3 separate regions of the Homo sapiens genome follow, and regions 2 and 3 are each linked to region 1. Evidence: promoter capture Hi-C in 16 types of primary human blood cells and fetal thymus (Javierre and others, 2016). All regions are on one chromosome and are shown on one strand. The core of a region is centred on a gene start or on the middle of the fragment in contact, and the rest is flanking DNA. Distances in the headings are between cores, read along the strand shown. Region 1 holds the start of GATB (glutamyl-tRNA amidotransferase subunit B). Region 2 holds the start of RNF175 (ring finger protein 175). Region 3 holds the start of TIGD4 (tigger transposable element derived 4).

What was found. The method cuts DNA at HindIII sites, captures the fragments that hold promoters and counts their contacts. A CHiCAGO score of 5 or more calls a contact.
Region 2: a contact is called between the fragment with the promoter of RNF175 here and the fragment with the promoter of GATB in region 1, in 1 of 17 cell types (naive B cells). The highest score is 7.7, in naive B cells.
Region 3: a contact is called between the fragment with the promoter of TIGD4 here and the fragment with the promoter of GATB in region 1, in 2 of 17 cell types (non-activated CD4 T cells and naive CD8 T cells). The highest score is 5.4, in non-activated CD4 T cells.

What each region holds. Positions count from the first base shown.
Region 1 is chr4:151,758,948-151,763,781 of GRCh38, reverse strand. GATB (glutamyl-tRNA amidotransferase subunit B) reads left to right here and starts at 2,775. Exons shown (of 13, transcript NM_004564.3): 1 at 2,775-2,975. The coding sequence starts at 2,800. RefSeq lists an enhancer at 2,780-3,059. The HindIII fragment of the contact is 14,733 bases long and covers 1-4,834 here.
Region 2 is chr4:153,757,744-153,762,577 of GRCh38, reverse strand. It overlaps RNF175 (ring finger protein 175), which reads left to right and starts at 2,554. Exons shown (of 9, transcript NM_173662.4): 1 at 2,554-2,781. The coding sequence starts at 2,716. The HindIII fragment of the contact is 8,763 bases long and covers 1-4,834 here.
Region 3 is chr4:152,776,952-152,781,785 of GRCh38, reverse strand. It overlaps TIGD4 (tigger transposable element derived 4), which reads left to right and starts at 2,056. Exons shown (of 2, transcript NM_145720.4): 1 at 2,056-2,304. ARFIP1 (ARF interacting protein 1) reads right to left here and starts at 1,832. Exons shown (of 9, transcript NM_001025595.3): 1 at 1,560-1,832. RefSeq lists enhancers at 1,555-1,604, 1,795-1,954, 2,405-2,614. The HindIII fragment of the contact is 8,897 bases long and covers 451-4,834 here.

The DNA.
Region 1 (4,834 bases), core at 1,526-4,025:
TCTAACTACTGCCATTTATAAGTAACGACTCGAAATTCTGCTCTGCTTTACATAGCTTTTTAAAAACCTGTTCTAAATCTATTTGTACTGTGTATCAATTATATGGATAAAATAAGAGCCGAGAGGCTCTCCCTAAGAAAAATGTTGTTTTTGCTAGAAACTCTGCCCAGCTACCTTCTGAGTTCCTTGAAAATGAAAATCTCTGTGTCTCCCAGATGACAGCCACCTTGTCGGTGCAACCAAAATAGCTCTCGCAGCTGGAGAGCTGTCTATCAGCAATAGTTCTGACAGATATCAGATTTGGCATGCAGCAGGAAGGCTAGAAATGGTCCCACAGAAGGCGGTTTGGTGGGAGTATGACCAGCTAAGGAGCAAGGCAGGGGGAGCACTCAGAAAACAGTGCTCCTGTTTTCACAAGGAAAACTACAGGCATTTCGGGAAATGACAAATAGTCTTGAGGGAGAGGACAGCCAAAGAGATGGTTATTGACAAGTCTCTATTTCCACGATTAGTTCTATAGGATTTTTGAAAGGGCAATGATTAGATAGAGACAAGATGCAGGAAACTGGCCGGTTTCCGTTCGTGAAAGGAAGCAAATACACTTACATGCGTAGGATTTTTATCTCCTCTAGTGGTGGGGTGGGGCCTTTGAGGCGATAGCCTATTACTGAATAATACCGCTTCAGAAACAAAGATGAGCTTCCCTTATAGCGCGTTTTACCCGTAAGATTAGGATTTTCATTAAATGTGTTGCTCTCCCTTACAGTGGTTTTCAAAACATTCCCAATCTTCCATTTGATGGAGTGAATCGCCTTTTAAGGATGCTGATTACCAGCGATGAGGTAACAAGTGTCCCCCTCTCTTTTTAGCTAGAGATACAAGATTCCATTCTCCTCTGTTGTCCTAACAAAAGTGAAGCCATTTTGTGCTCAGAGGCAACTCTCCTGACCCCTAGTCTGGGCCAGAAAAACCTGAGGAGCTAAATAAGTAAAAGAAAGCTAGCTTACCTAGAGTAAAGGTGGAAAACATGGAAACTCAGAGGGAAGACTCTAGTAAAGGATCTAGAGAATCATCTGAACCTTAAATAAAGGGCAATAATTAGAGAGAAATTTTGGAACAAGTCTCCACCACTCCCTTCCAGTCCCTGTCATTTTTGTCATTTTCATCCTTGGTCAAATGACTGATACTTCTGGTGTGGCAATTTAGAACAGTGATAGTGGATGAAAAAGTAGAAAAGATGGAAAAAATAAATGATGACAATTTTAAGGACAGTAACTAAAGTTTCTTTCTTCCATATGGATATGCAATTGAAGTGTATTAAAGGAAAAGATCAAAGGTTACAGCCAACTAATCAATGGATTATTGATCAATAACTGAAAATCTATCAATGTGAAGTATACAAAATATGCAGCTTTTCCCCTTGCCCTGCTCTATACTCAGAATTAGGCATCACTGATGTCTACTTGATTTCTCCTCTTGAATGTCTCCAAGGCAACCAAACTCATATGTTTTCTTTGCAAACCTGTTCCTTTTCTGGTTTCCTTATCTCGGTGGATAACTTCATCAGCCAGTTGTGCAAACCAGAAATCCAGGAGTTATTTGTTTCTCCTAGCCTTCCACCATCATATCCAATCCATCAGAGTCCTTCAATTTTACTTCCTATATCTATCTCAAACAGATCCATTTCTCTTTGGCTCTGCCACCACCCTAACTCATCATCTCTCCCCTAAACAATTACTGCTCCAAAGGGCATCCACTCCATCCTTTGTCAAATGCATTCTCCACACTGCACTACTTTATTCAACAAATATTTTTAAGGAACCTACTTTGTACTGTAGTGAATAAGACAGACGAGGAATTTGTGGAAATAGAAGATAAACATCAGGCAGTCAAAAGCACTACGAGGACAATCAAAGTCGGGTGATGAAATAGAGAGTGGCTAAATGACTATTCTAGACTGTGTTCAAACACAAGAAATCGGTGGCAGTTTTAACAAGGGGTATTAGTTTTGACACAGGAAAATGAAGGAAGTCCGCTGGGACGATGGTATCTGCTCCTAGCATATAAGGAGTGTGTTTCTGATACTGGCCAATAATAAAAAGGAGGTTAAAATGTACATGAACATTCAATCTAGGGCTGTTTGTCTCCAATTACCTCTGCTTAAACATAGCACTTACTACCTATATGGAAGTATCTTATTTTTGTTAACTTCTGTATGTCTCCCTTCTTTAGAATGTAAGCTCCATGAACATGCGGGCCATAACTGTCTTGATCTCTGCAGTAACTACAGTGCCTAAGAGAACTGAGCCTGGCATTACGGTAGGCATGCAAATAAGTATTTGTTGCATTAACGCACAAATTGCTGAGTGAAGCAGGAGAGTAGACAGAGAATATAACGGATTGGGTTTGGGGGCTGAGGAAGTCTCTGCTGAGCTGTCAAGGTCATTTACTTCCCCTTGCAAGGTTAACTGGGTTATAAAATCCCGGCCACGCTTTAGCACCAAGCATCAAGCGCTCACACTCTAACTTATACACACGCTCACAGCCACAAACCTCTCCAACTCCCCGCTAGGAGGAGTCACACCTCCCCACCCAGAAACCCTCCCACCCTCTCCTCTATTTCTCCTTCCCTCCCCTCTCCGCGGGGTTCCGGCAGGCTTCGAATCACAATGCTCGCCGGGAATAGTAGTCTTCCGGTCCGAGCCTATGGCGTTTTTAATGCATTTCCAGAACTACGCTTCCCAGGGAGCCTCGCGGCATAGTGAGGCTGAGTCACCTGACCAAGACCCTGGAGTTACAATGGCGGCGCCCATGCTGCGCTGGGGCTGCCGTGGAAGACGTTGGGCTTTCGCCCGGGTTGACGGTGGTTCTTGCCACCGAAGAGGGGCTCCGACTGGGTCCACATCCAACCAGATTAGGGGAGAGAGCTCAGTGGCTCAGCAGCCCCTCCACACGGCCCAGAAGACGAGGAAAGGGTATTCTGTTTCATACATTTCTGCCCACCTAACTGTGAGGTGGAACTGCAGGACTGGGGAAATAATGGCAATTACGGCCCAGCTTCTAGACGTTTTGGCTGACGGGAGGGCGTTGAGTTATAACCTGGAGCCCCGAAACCTAAATAAAAGCACAAACAGACTTTCTATCAACTCCGCCCCCATATATAAACCACTGTTTTCAAATAGATGTAGTTGGGGAATTCGCGAGTGTAAAATAGCAAATATTTTCTTGAAGGGTGCACAGACAGAAGAGTGGATTCGGTCATCTTACTAATAGCACTAGCAGTGGGGACGGTGACACGAGAAGCGGGATCATATTTAGCTGATTTTATTTAGCGCTAGTATGGGCTGGCAGCGTTCTAAAGGTAGAAAGGGAGCCTTTACCTACAAGCTCTTGGTAGTGGTGGGTTATTGTCATTAGTCAGAAAACACTAGCTATCTGTGCAGGCGTTTTATGTTGGAATATGTGTGACTAGACCTAGGAGGACGCAGCCAAAAGAAGAGATACTCCCCCTGGTTATATGGAGAGTTTTGCTTATTTGGCCAGATATCCCCTGAACAGCTGTTTATGCTTCATTATGTAAGAATTAAATAGTTTCTCTTTAAATACAGAAACATATGGCAAGTTTCTAATATTTTGTTTATTCTTTGAGACTAGTTGGCATTATTTTTACTTTCAGTTGGAGGAACAGAGGGAAATTGTCCAGAAAGAAGTATTCAGTTTTGTATTCTTTTCGTGAATTAGATTGTTTCCTTGTGAATGGAAAGTACATTTTTTCTCTCATGTAATGGAAATGCAAAAATACTTTGAATGGTGCTTTACTGCATGCAGAATTTCTAATGAGTTCCTACTTTAATTCCCCTCCCTTATGGGCTGTGTTTCCAAACTTTAAAAAGAAGGACTTATTCTTGCAGTACTTCAGATATAGAACTTTATATGTTGAAATGATTGAAACAAAACAAAACGATGTAAAATATGTATATATATATATATGTATATACACAAAATTACTTGGGAGAAGAGCAGGATAGGAACATACATGGATTTCATAGGGAATAAGCACATTTATAAGGACCTGGAGAGGCCTATGTACAGACCCAACAGAGTAGGACTGACCAGATAAGAGAGATTATTATAGCATTTAACAGCTTCTTAGATTTGATAGCAAATAAGCATTAAAAAAGTAACCTGAAATTAGGTCTCAGGAATTGAAAGTGATTTGGGGGACCAAAAATATGCCGCATCAGATGGTTTAGTGTGGTGGAGTTTTGCAAAATTTTTTTAAGAGTATCATTTAGTGGTGATTTATTGTATCTGTGTCTCTCTGGTTATTATACATGCAAACCAAAACATGGTTGAGAATTTCCTTTTTAAATAAGAGACGTGGAACTATTTATCATTATTTCTCTAGTAGTAGAATGTTGCCATTTATGTTAATTCTAGATAATGTGGGAAAGATCAGCTTTCATCATTTACTGAGTGATTACTTGATAAGTTACAGTTAATTTGTTAAATGCCGCTTTTCACTGAAGTCAGCCAAGCAGTTGTCACCTGATACCCATTTCTAAATTGTTTTAAGACGCCAAATTGTTCCTTTCTCTATAGCCTTCATGTTTATATCATCAGCCTCCTGATGCCATGTTGTAAATGAATTTTAGTTTGCCAATCTCAGTGTAGGCGCTTATTCTAAATTGTTTTTTATTTAGTCACTGATAAAATATGACACATTTTTAATGTGAGGATATAACATTGTATTAAGTTTAAAACACATATAGGAAATTAACATTTGTGGTTTAGACTTATAGAAATTCATTCATGGTGACAAATATAATACATC
Region 2 (4,834 bases), core at 1,305-3,804, 2.0 Mb before region 1:
ACCAGGTATAAGAGGAGGATAGATTAGAGCAAAGCCATCGTTACTGATGGGGAAGAAATGCACTTTTTGAGTTTTATTCTGATATGATTGCTGAGCTGAAGCCAGAAGGAAGATGATACCTTTGTGCATACATGGGTCTCCAGTGAAGTATGTGGGTCTTTTTGGTGCCAATCAATCAGGAGAGAGAGTTTCAAATCTGGGACCTGAGACTTATATAACAATAACAGGTCAGAATTTTATAGAAAGGGAACATCTATCTCCATATGGACTATTTTCATTTTATTATTTTGCTGCCTTGGGAGAATCTAGATGAATGTGAGGATATCCTGGGCTGGAGAGAAAAAATGGCTCTTGCCACATGAAGGCAGGCCACAAGATAGGTAGAGAAGTAACATGTCCAAATGAACCCACTATTTTTGTGTCCCCAAATCTGCTGCTCTTTCAATGTTCCCATTCTCAGCAATGGCAGCACTGTCTGCCCAAATGCTAGACTGCCCAAGCCACATGCCTGGGCACCATCCTTGGAGATGAGTCAAGTACAGTAGATTCTATTACCTAGATCTCCCATCCCCAAACACATCTCTCCATCTCCCCTCCACTCTGTCCCCGCACACACTCTCACCACCAAGGCCACTGTCATCCTTAGAGCTGAAACTACAGCAATAGCTTTCTGGCTGGTCTCTCTGTCTTGAGTCATAGTCATAGCCCTCTTCCCCACTCTTGAAGCCAAAAGGCAAGTCTGGTAATGTCATTTTCTTGCTTAAAACTCGGTAATGGCTTCTCATTCTCCTGAGGCTACAGTCCAAACTGTTTAATATGATTTATGTGGATCTGGCCCTTGCTGACCTTCGCAGCTACTTCCTTGAGAGATTAAGAACCCAGACCATGAAGTCAGTTTTGTCTGGGTTCAAATTCCCACTGCCCCACCTATTAGCTTCAAAACTTGAACAAACTTCTGGACCTCTCTGTGCTTCAGTGTTCTCCCGTGTAAAACACGGACGGTCACAATGCCCACCTCACAGGATTGTCAGGAAGACTGAATGAGCTAACACAGGTAGAGTGCTCAGGACGGCACCTGGCACACGGTAAGCATTCTATCAATGTTAACCATGATTTTTATTTCTCCAATTCATTATGCCTTCTCCAGCATTCCGGCCCTTGCATCCACTGTTCTCTCCATCTCAGACACTCTTTCCAACACACTCTGATCATGCTACAAGGTAGTCTTCAGATGTAGGTAACAGCCCCAGCGGCACCTGAAAACTTGTTCAAAAGACAAATGCTCAGGCTCCACCCTAGACCTACTATATTAAAAACTCTAGGGCTCAACTCCAGCAATCTGAAGATTTTTGTTTTGTTTTTTGATAGAGTCTCGCTCTGTTGTCCAGGCAGAAGTGCAGTGGTTCCATCACGGCTTACTGCAGCCTGAACCTCCCGGGCTCCGGCGATCCTCCAGCCTCAACCTCCTGAGTAGCTGGGGCTACAGGTGTACCACGCCCAGCTCACTTTTGTATATTTTATAGAGATGGGGCTTCACCATGTTGCCTAGGCTGGTCTCAAACTCCTAGGTTCAAGCAATCCGCCCGCCCTGTCCTCCCAAAGTGCTGGGATTAAAGGCATCAGCCACTGTGCTTGGCCAGCACTCTGAGTTTTAACAAACTCAGCATTCCTCCATAGGATTCTGATGCCCAGTTAAGGCTGGAAAACCAAGGCACCATCCGTGATAAATTGTACTTAGATGCTTATTTTTCTCTATCCCCTGTTAGGCTCTACGTTCCACAATGGCAGAGAAATGTCCATCTTGGTCTGTTCACCTCCTTTGTAGGTGTTGACAAATACGAGCCATCACAAACTGGAAAGGGGTAAGCTGTATTTCGTAGGACACATCATCTAATTCTGTGCTCCTCTTTTCTGTTTCCCCAAATCAACACCCAGGTATTTCTAAAGGCTTGCCTAAACGTTCCAGCTTGTTCTCAACCTTGAAGCCAGGCTTAGGCCTAAGTTGTAAAGGCGGGAGGGGAGACCCTGGAGGTAGAGGGGCAAAGGCAAGATGCTTGCGTCGCAGGGGCCCTGCATGGCCTGGAGCAGCATAGGGGCCAAGATGGTCTGCGCTCTCCCTAGATTGGAGTTTCTCTCCTTCATCATCTTTGGAGGAAGCACAGATAACTGAGGAAAGTCTGTATCTGCACAGCCACCCGAACTCCTGCCTCCTAATAAACACCTCTGAGGGAGAGGAAACTCTCTCTCTCTCTTCTCTTCCTCCCCAGCACCCCTCGCCCCCCCACCGCCATTTCTCACTCCTCTACTCCCCTCTCTCTCCCTACCCACCTCTGACCCCTCCTCCAGTCCTGCCGCCCGGTAACAAAACCGGGGTTCCCGCCACACGCACCCGGTAGGGCTCAAGACGCTTTATCGGCGACAATGGCTGGCTGAATGGGAGGCCTGAGGTTCTGAAGGAACCGGGGTGCTGGCGACCGGGACCTCGAGGCCGCTGCTGGGGAGGACGCTGGCCAGCGTGCAGGGGGCGGAGGCGGGGCGTGCCGGGAGGCTCCCATCTCCCGCCCCGCACAACCCGGGCAGGGCCGCCGCTCCGCCGCCGCCGCAGATCCGGCTCTCACCCTCGGCTCCCGAGGCCCCGCGGCGCCTCCTTCTGCGGACTCTGCGGGACCCTCCCCGGCAGGCGCTGTGCCCTGGAGAAGGCACAGTGGCTCAGGCATGGCCGCGGGGACGGCGGCGCGGAAGGCAGCGCCGGTGCTGGAGGCCCCCCCGCAGCAGGAGCAGGTACTGGCGCGGGGGCGCGGGCGTGGGGGACGCCAGGCCGGGGTCCCGGGGCTCACGCTGGTGCCGGGCAGGCTGCACAGACTGGTCTCCAAGACCCCGGGCCCCACCGGGGAGAACCGGCCCTGGAAAGACGTGGGGACGGACGCATGACCTTCTGGAAGATGCCACCGTGCGGGGTGCCAGTCCCTCCTCCACTCCCTCCCTCCCCACTTCTGTGCCCTCCCCGCTACCTTCCTTTCCTCCTTCTGATCCTCTTCCTTCGCTCCATCCCTCTTCTCGCATCCTCGCACTTTCTCTTCCAGGCTCACCCCTTCCACTCCCGCCCTCCTTTGTGACCGCCTGTGCCCTCCTCCCTCCTCGGCGGAAGCCCCCAGAGCCCAGGGTCAAGGTCGTAAGCTGCGAGAGAGGGGAAGGGGTGTACTGCAGGCTTTTGGCTAGACCGCCCTGGTTCTCAAACTCGAGTGTCATCAGAATCACTCGGAGGGCCTGTTACCACGCAGACTGCTGGTCTGTGCCCAGGGTTTCTGATTCAAGATGTGTACCCTGATCGTCAGCTTGTCTTGCCTGGTGCTCAACCTAGCCCATTTCTGCTTCTGCTGGCGTCAATTGCAAACCCAATCTTAATTTATTCTTCGTTCATAGGACAATTCTTCTTAGGCTACATCCAGGTACCAGGAGGATTTGGGGGTGGAGGAGGGTAGGTCTTACCTGGAGGAACCCAAATCCCATCCGTAAAACGAGGACAAAAATAACTCTTAAGGGCAAAGATAACTCTTAAACAACAACAAAAATCACTCACAGAGCGGGTAGGAAGAGATTAATGTCCCAAAATAGGTTCAGGCAAAGAACTGTAGGATTTCTGAGAAGGGCTTGCTCCTGACTAACCCCCTTCTCCTCCAACCCGTGAGGGCGTGGCATTCGAGCTGGGTGTTGGGGAATGGACAGGATCTGACCTCATGGGCCAGAGAATTCTAGATGGAGGGAACAACAGTACCAAATGGCTTGGAGATTTTTTTTTTTTTAATATTGGGATGGATGGCCATGGGACAAGGCAGAGAGAGGGGACTGTCCACTCTGACTGCCAGAAACCTAGGGGTCAGGAATGCTTATAGCAAAAAATAAGGGTGGGCTAGGCTGTGGAGGGGCTTGTGTACCACAAAATGGGGAAACTTAAAATGAAACTCCATGACTTTCTTGCTGGTTTCAAACCCAGATTATCGAAAGGGAGGTTCTGAATTGATGAATGCATGCCAGGAGTGTCAGAGGATCTAGTACTGGTGGATTTGCTGCTGATCTTTGCTCTTCCTTAAGGCTGGCATCACTGCCTAGTCTGCTGCCCTCAGGAGGTATGGCCTCTCTGTTGAGGCTGCCCTAGGAGGGACTCACAGCTTTTCCCTTAATCCCATATGGCAAGACAGTGTGGTCCAGGAACCAGCAGCCAAGGCATTACCTGGGAGCCTGTTAAAAATGCAGTCTCAGTTCCCACGCCAGACCCACTGAATTGAAATCCGCATTTTAACCAGATCCCAGGGTGATTCATTTGCACATCAAAGTTCAAGAAGTGCTGGTTTCTTGACTTTACTAGAGCTAGGGATAAGAAAGTGAAAACAGAGATAGTTACTGACCAGCCTATTATCTGATAGCTTCCCTTTGGTTTGAACCTCACCCTATTTTATTTTCCTTCATCACCCTTATCACTACCTGAAGTATGTCTATGTGTGTATTTGATTGTCTAAGAACCTCCTTCAGCATGAAAGCTCCAGCAGAAAAGCCATGTGGTCTGCCTTGCTCGCTCCTGTATTTCCAGGACCTAGAACAGTCTCAGCAAACGGCAGGGCCTCAATAAATATTTATTGAATGAATAAATGAACAGTAACGTACAATCTTATGATGTAAGACCCTAACTCCAGCATACCTTACTGGACAAACACCATCTCCCTATTCCCCATCCTCCACCTCCCCAGCTACAACCCCTGGGGTCTTTTGAGCCTGCAACTGGTTAGGTATGTTTGAAACTCCTAAAATTTGGAGTGTGAGAGCAGAGACCATGGGT
Region 3 (4,834 bases), core at 807-3,306, 1.0 Mb before region 1:
TCAATTTGGAAAGAAACTAAAGTAACTGAGGCAGGGATTTAATCCACAAAATACATTAGAAATCTTTTCTCTTTTCTCAGATAAAAGTGTGTTAGACTTGGTAGTTGGGAGAAGACGTGGGTCATGCTAAGCAAGGAAAACAAAACAAAAAACACCACAGGACAAACGAAAGAAAAGCAGAATTAAGGCAGCAGTAAAATATAGTAATCTGTAGCCGCTCTGAGAGAACAGCAATGAAATGGCCAATTCGGCCGGGCGCGGTGGCTCACGCCTGTAATCCCAACACTTTGGGAGGCCGAGGAGGGAGGATCATTTGAGGTCAGGAGTTTGAGACCAGCCTGGCCAACACGGTGAAACCCCGTCTCTACTAAAAATACAAAAATTAGCTAGGCGGTAGTGGCGCCTACCTGTAAACCCAGCTACTCAGAAGGCTGAGACAGGAGAAAAGCTTGAGCCTGGGAGGTGGACGTTGCGGTGAGCCGAGATCGTGCCAATGCACTCCAGCCTGGGCGACAGAGTGAGACTCTGTCTCAAAAAAAAAAAAAAAAAAAGAAAAAAGAAAAGGCCAATTCCTGAAGCCTTAACAGACGGCTGACTTAAGGTAACCATTTCTGGTGCACATTTCTATGCCAATTAAGTTAATTAAATGGCAAACATGAACACACCCTTACAGGTGAAAGTATGAAAGCAAAAGTTTATGCGAAGTTCTGGATCTCTTCCGGCTTTTCCTTATCAAATAATAATGTAGTTAGATGAATTTTATACTTTAGGAGAAAACAGGGTAGGGGCGGGGGACAGAAATCCTAAGAGTGGCCAAAGGATCTGCAGGAAGTATAAAGTGTAAACTTTTTGAAATCAAAGGGCTCAAGAGGAAGGTAAGAACAAAACAAAGGAAGTAATAACAAAATAAAGTAAAAGGGAAAAACGTCTAGCATCTAAAAACTGTTTTTAAAAAATTATTTCCTTTTCCTAGACACGTAAACAGTAGTAACTTGGCAAACAGGAACGGAGCAGAAGACAATCGAACAACTCCCTTTCCAAAACTCCAGCATTCCTTAGTCAGGCTTGGGACATTTCACAGGCAAGACTCCTCTCTGCACCACTGCCAGATGAATCTCTCAGAGGGACTGTCACTATCTCCCTTCCTCCCACTGCGGGAGAGAGGAAGCTGGGGATGCAGGGAGAAGAGGGGAGAAATGAGGGTTGGACAGCAAGCCTGAAGGTGGCCCACTCCGACACTTTGTCAAGAAAGGTCCGGATTCTGGATCCTGCAACTCCTTTTCCCACCCAATGTATGCAAAGCCAAGAGAGTGCCTCCCTGCAAGGGCCGGTCCTACACCTTCACTCGACTGTTTCGGGGGCACACTCAGAGGGACAGAAGGAATGAAGGACAGAAGAAACCAAAGGCATAACACTTGGGCAGATACGGCACAGACTAAGGAGAGGCGTGCCCTGTGAAAGTTCGGAACGGTGAACCCGTAGGCAACGTGCCCGCCCCACCAGCCACCTCAAACCATCTTTCCCCCGCCTTTTCCCAGGCGAGCCAGCTCCGCCCTCACCTTTCTTAGGGTAACTCGGTAGCTTCTAAGTCGAGGCTTATCCTTTCCGCCGCTCTCTGGAATCGCCTCAACCCTGGCAAAAACTGAGCGGAAACGCGACCCGGACCTTTTCCTTCTTCCCCTTCCCCCACGCACCTCGGCTGCTCGGGGGCGGGGAGCAACTGCAGCTGTCACAAATTCACACTGACCAACCGCCGAGGACAGTCGGACCGGCGACCTCTCAACCCAGCCTCCAGAACCAGAACCAAGAGCAGCGAAGCCGGAAGTGAGGAGACCGGAAGTAGCGTTGTCCCTGGCCCTGGACGGCCTCTCTCTCCCTCAATCCGGCCTTGCCCGGCCACGTCTCGGTGGTGTCAGCGCACCTCCCACGAGGATCCCTCCGCCCTTCTCCGGGAGGCGGGCTACGCCCCTCCCTCTGCTGCCCTAGCAACCACATCCGGGACTCCGGCGGTGTCGTTGCCCGGGTAATTTTCTGGCAGCGACCTAATGCGCGCGGGGCCAGAGGCACCGGCTAGAGCTGGGAGCTTGCGGAAGGGCGCCCCTGCCTGGTCTTGAGAGGTCGAAGGTCTCCAGGAGGCCTCCGCCTCCCTCTTTTTCATTCACACACCCTAGCCTCACACGTTAGGAGGACCCCCCCAACAGACCGTGAGCTGGTGCCGGGAGGGTGGAGGTAGATGTACCTCACCTCCACGCTACCACAGAAGAGCGAAAGCTGCTTTCTCAGCCACCGGAGAGCACGAAGAAGGTTATTCCAGTCCCGGGGGGAAGGTGGGGGTGGTAGGGAGAATGCGAAGATAAGGCAGCAGACGGAATGCGGGCGCTGCCTCGCGCTGCCCCCGTGCCTGGGGAGCCCTCTCCCTTCAGAAAGGCTAGACCCCCGGGCCCGGCATCCCTGAGCTCTTACTTGCTCTGGATTTGTGATCGCTTTTTGCTTTTTGCTCGCTCTCTCACAGTAGATTCCTTGATACTTTTCTTTCCGGCTCCTCTTTCTTTTTCCGGATGACCGAGCTCTGCTTTCTTTGCTTGCCCCATTACTTCTTAAATAGATCATTGTTCTGTCACGGAAACTGCTGAACAATTCGCTCTCTCAGAGCCCTTCGTAGTTTCCTAAACGGGGCCCCAACCTGCACTACTCTCCCCATCCCCAGAGCTCAGTGGTGCGAAAGCGTGGCTCCCCCGTGGCGCTAGATAGACCTGAAGTTCATTTACACACTGTACCATACAGTTGGTCCATCACAGAATATCCCTTCGAACTGCTGGACTGCTTTTCCTTTGACAGCTTTGAATGCTCATTTTTACTCCCATTTCACTTGTAGAAATGCGAAGGGTAACTGTGCACACGGCGAGATTTACCCTTCTTTAGACCGTACTTCTCAGCTGCCTTTACTTGTCACAGTAGCTGACAAGATATTTTTAATGACTAATGCCCAAAGGCAGAGCTCTACCTCTACAGATTTCCAGGGAGTTTCAGTGTAGTGAAATATCCCTGGCAGGTATCTTCCCCAGATCTGTGAATAGTAAACACCTATGGCACCATAAATGTTTCCAATGTATAACAATATTGATTGAGCTCTCTAGGATACCACCTCTTAAAAAAATAGTACTGAAATTCCAAAACATAAATCTCTTATCTTAAGTGGTTCTGTCTTAAACAAAAGAAAGGAGCAAATATATATGCCAACCCACTCAAACTGTAACTTCAATTGTTATAGCTTACTGTGGATTTTTCTGTACAAAGCCATCTTGTTGGTTTGGAGACCATTAGTCTTCTCAATTATAAGAAAATAATCCCAATCTAAATTAATTACTGCTGTAATTGTGTAGGAACTGAGCAACTACAGAACTTGCAGCTAAGTACAAGTGTTGTTCCTAGGGTTTCAGAAGGGTGACTTGGAGGAAGTGTACGGTAGGACTCAGCGGTGCTTGAATGATGTGGACAATGAATACTAAATTGTTTTTGCTGGCTGTTATCTTAAAGATTCCTGCTAGCTGTCTCTTGAGTTTGGAGATGCTTAGCTTGACTAAAGTTAGTCTAACTATTAGACTGTCAGACTCTGAAGTGTTTCTTATTTTGGAAAGGTGAAGACTTGCTTTAGTTTGTTCATAGTTTCCTTGGCAGCTGCTGATGGTTTTGATGGAGATTCAGATGGATTTGGAACTAATGCTAACTTCTGCTTGGTGAAGATGCTAACCAAGTTAGATACTCTTCAGTGAATTCTGGTACTGTGTACGATTAATCCTCATCCACAGTATTACGCTGTGCAAGGCTATATATACACAGGATTAATCTTTCCATGATTTCCACTGCCCTGAAGGAAATTAGAATGTAGTCTGGCTCCAAGAAAACACTAGAAACTACTTCAGCTGGTGATGGAAAATAGTGGAATTCTATACATCCTTTGAGACAATGGAAGCAGCAAACCAGCGTTCTTTGGATTGGGGAATATTTTTGGTACTAACTGAAAAACATCATTTTAAGCCTGGCCCTGCTTAGAGGAGACTTGTTTTCTCTTCCCTCTCTCCCTCTCTTCCTTTTTTCCCTCCTTCCTCTTTTTCTTTCCTCCTTTCCTTCTTGTCTCCCTCCCTTCTCCTTCCTTCCTTCTTCCTCTTTTTCTTTCCTCCTTCCCTCCCTCCCTCCCTTCCTTCCTTTTTTCCTTTCTCCCCTCCTTCCTTCCTTTTTTTCTTCCTTCCTTCCTCCCTCCCTCCCTTCTTTTCTTCCTTTCTTCCTTTGCCCTAAAACTTGGGGGACCCTGCCTGCTCATTTTGTTTAGAATAGAAGATTACTACTTTTCTCTGAATTGTCATTTATTTTTAGAGAGGTAAGAAAAAAGGGAATAGCTGCCTTCCATATATACTTATGACATGGAGATTATCTACTCATTTAACTTTGCACTGCTATTGGCTGTTTATTTGGCTTTTGAAAAATCAGGTGCTATTTATTCATTGGGCTTGTGGGGAACTCTAGTAGCCCTGAATGGCATTTGTGGCATACTCAATGAAGTCTAATTCTTTATCCTGGCATTAAAGGCTTACCAAGATCTGGCCTCAATCTTGCAAATGAGCACTCTCTTATATACCTGAAGGAAAAGTGCTAATTTAGCCAACTAATAGAGATAGGTATAAATACCAATATAGACATAGATATGAAACTTTAGTTGCAAAGAAATGTTTAATATGCTTCAAAGTGCATATTTCCCTCTTCCATGCTTTATTGTCTATTCTTATCAGCAGAAATGTTTTCCTATTTTTCCTTACCTGTGATGTACCTATCCATC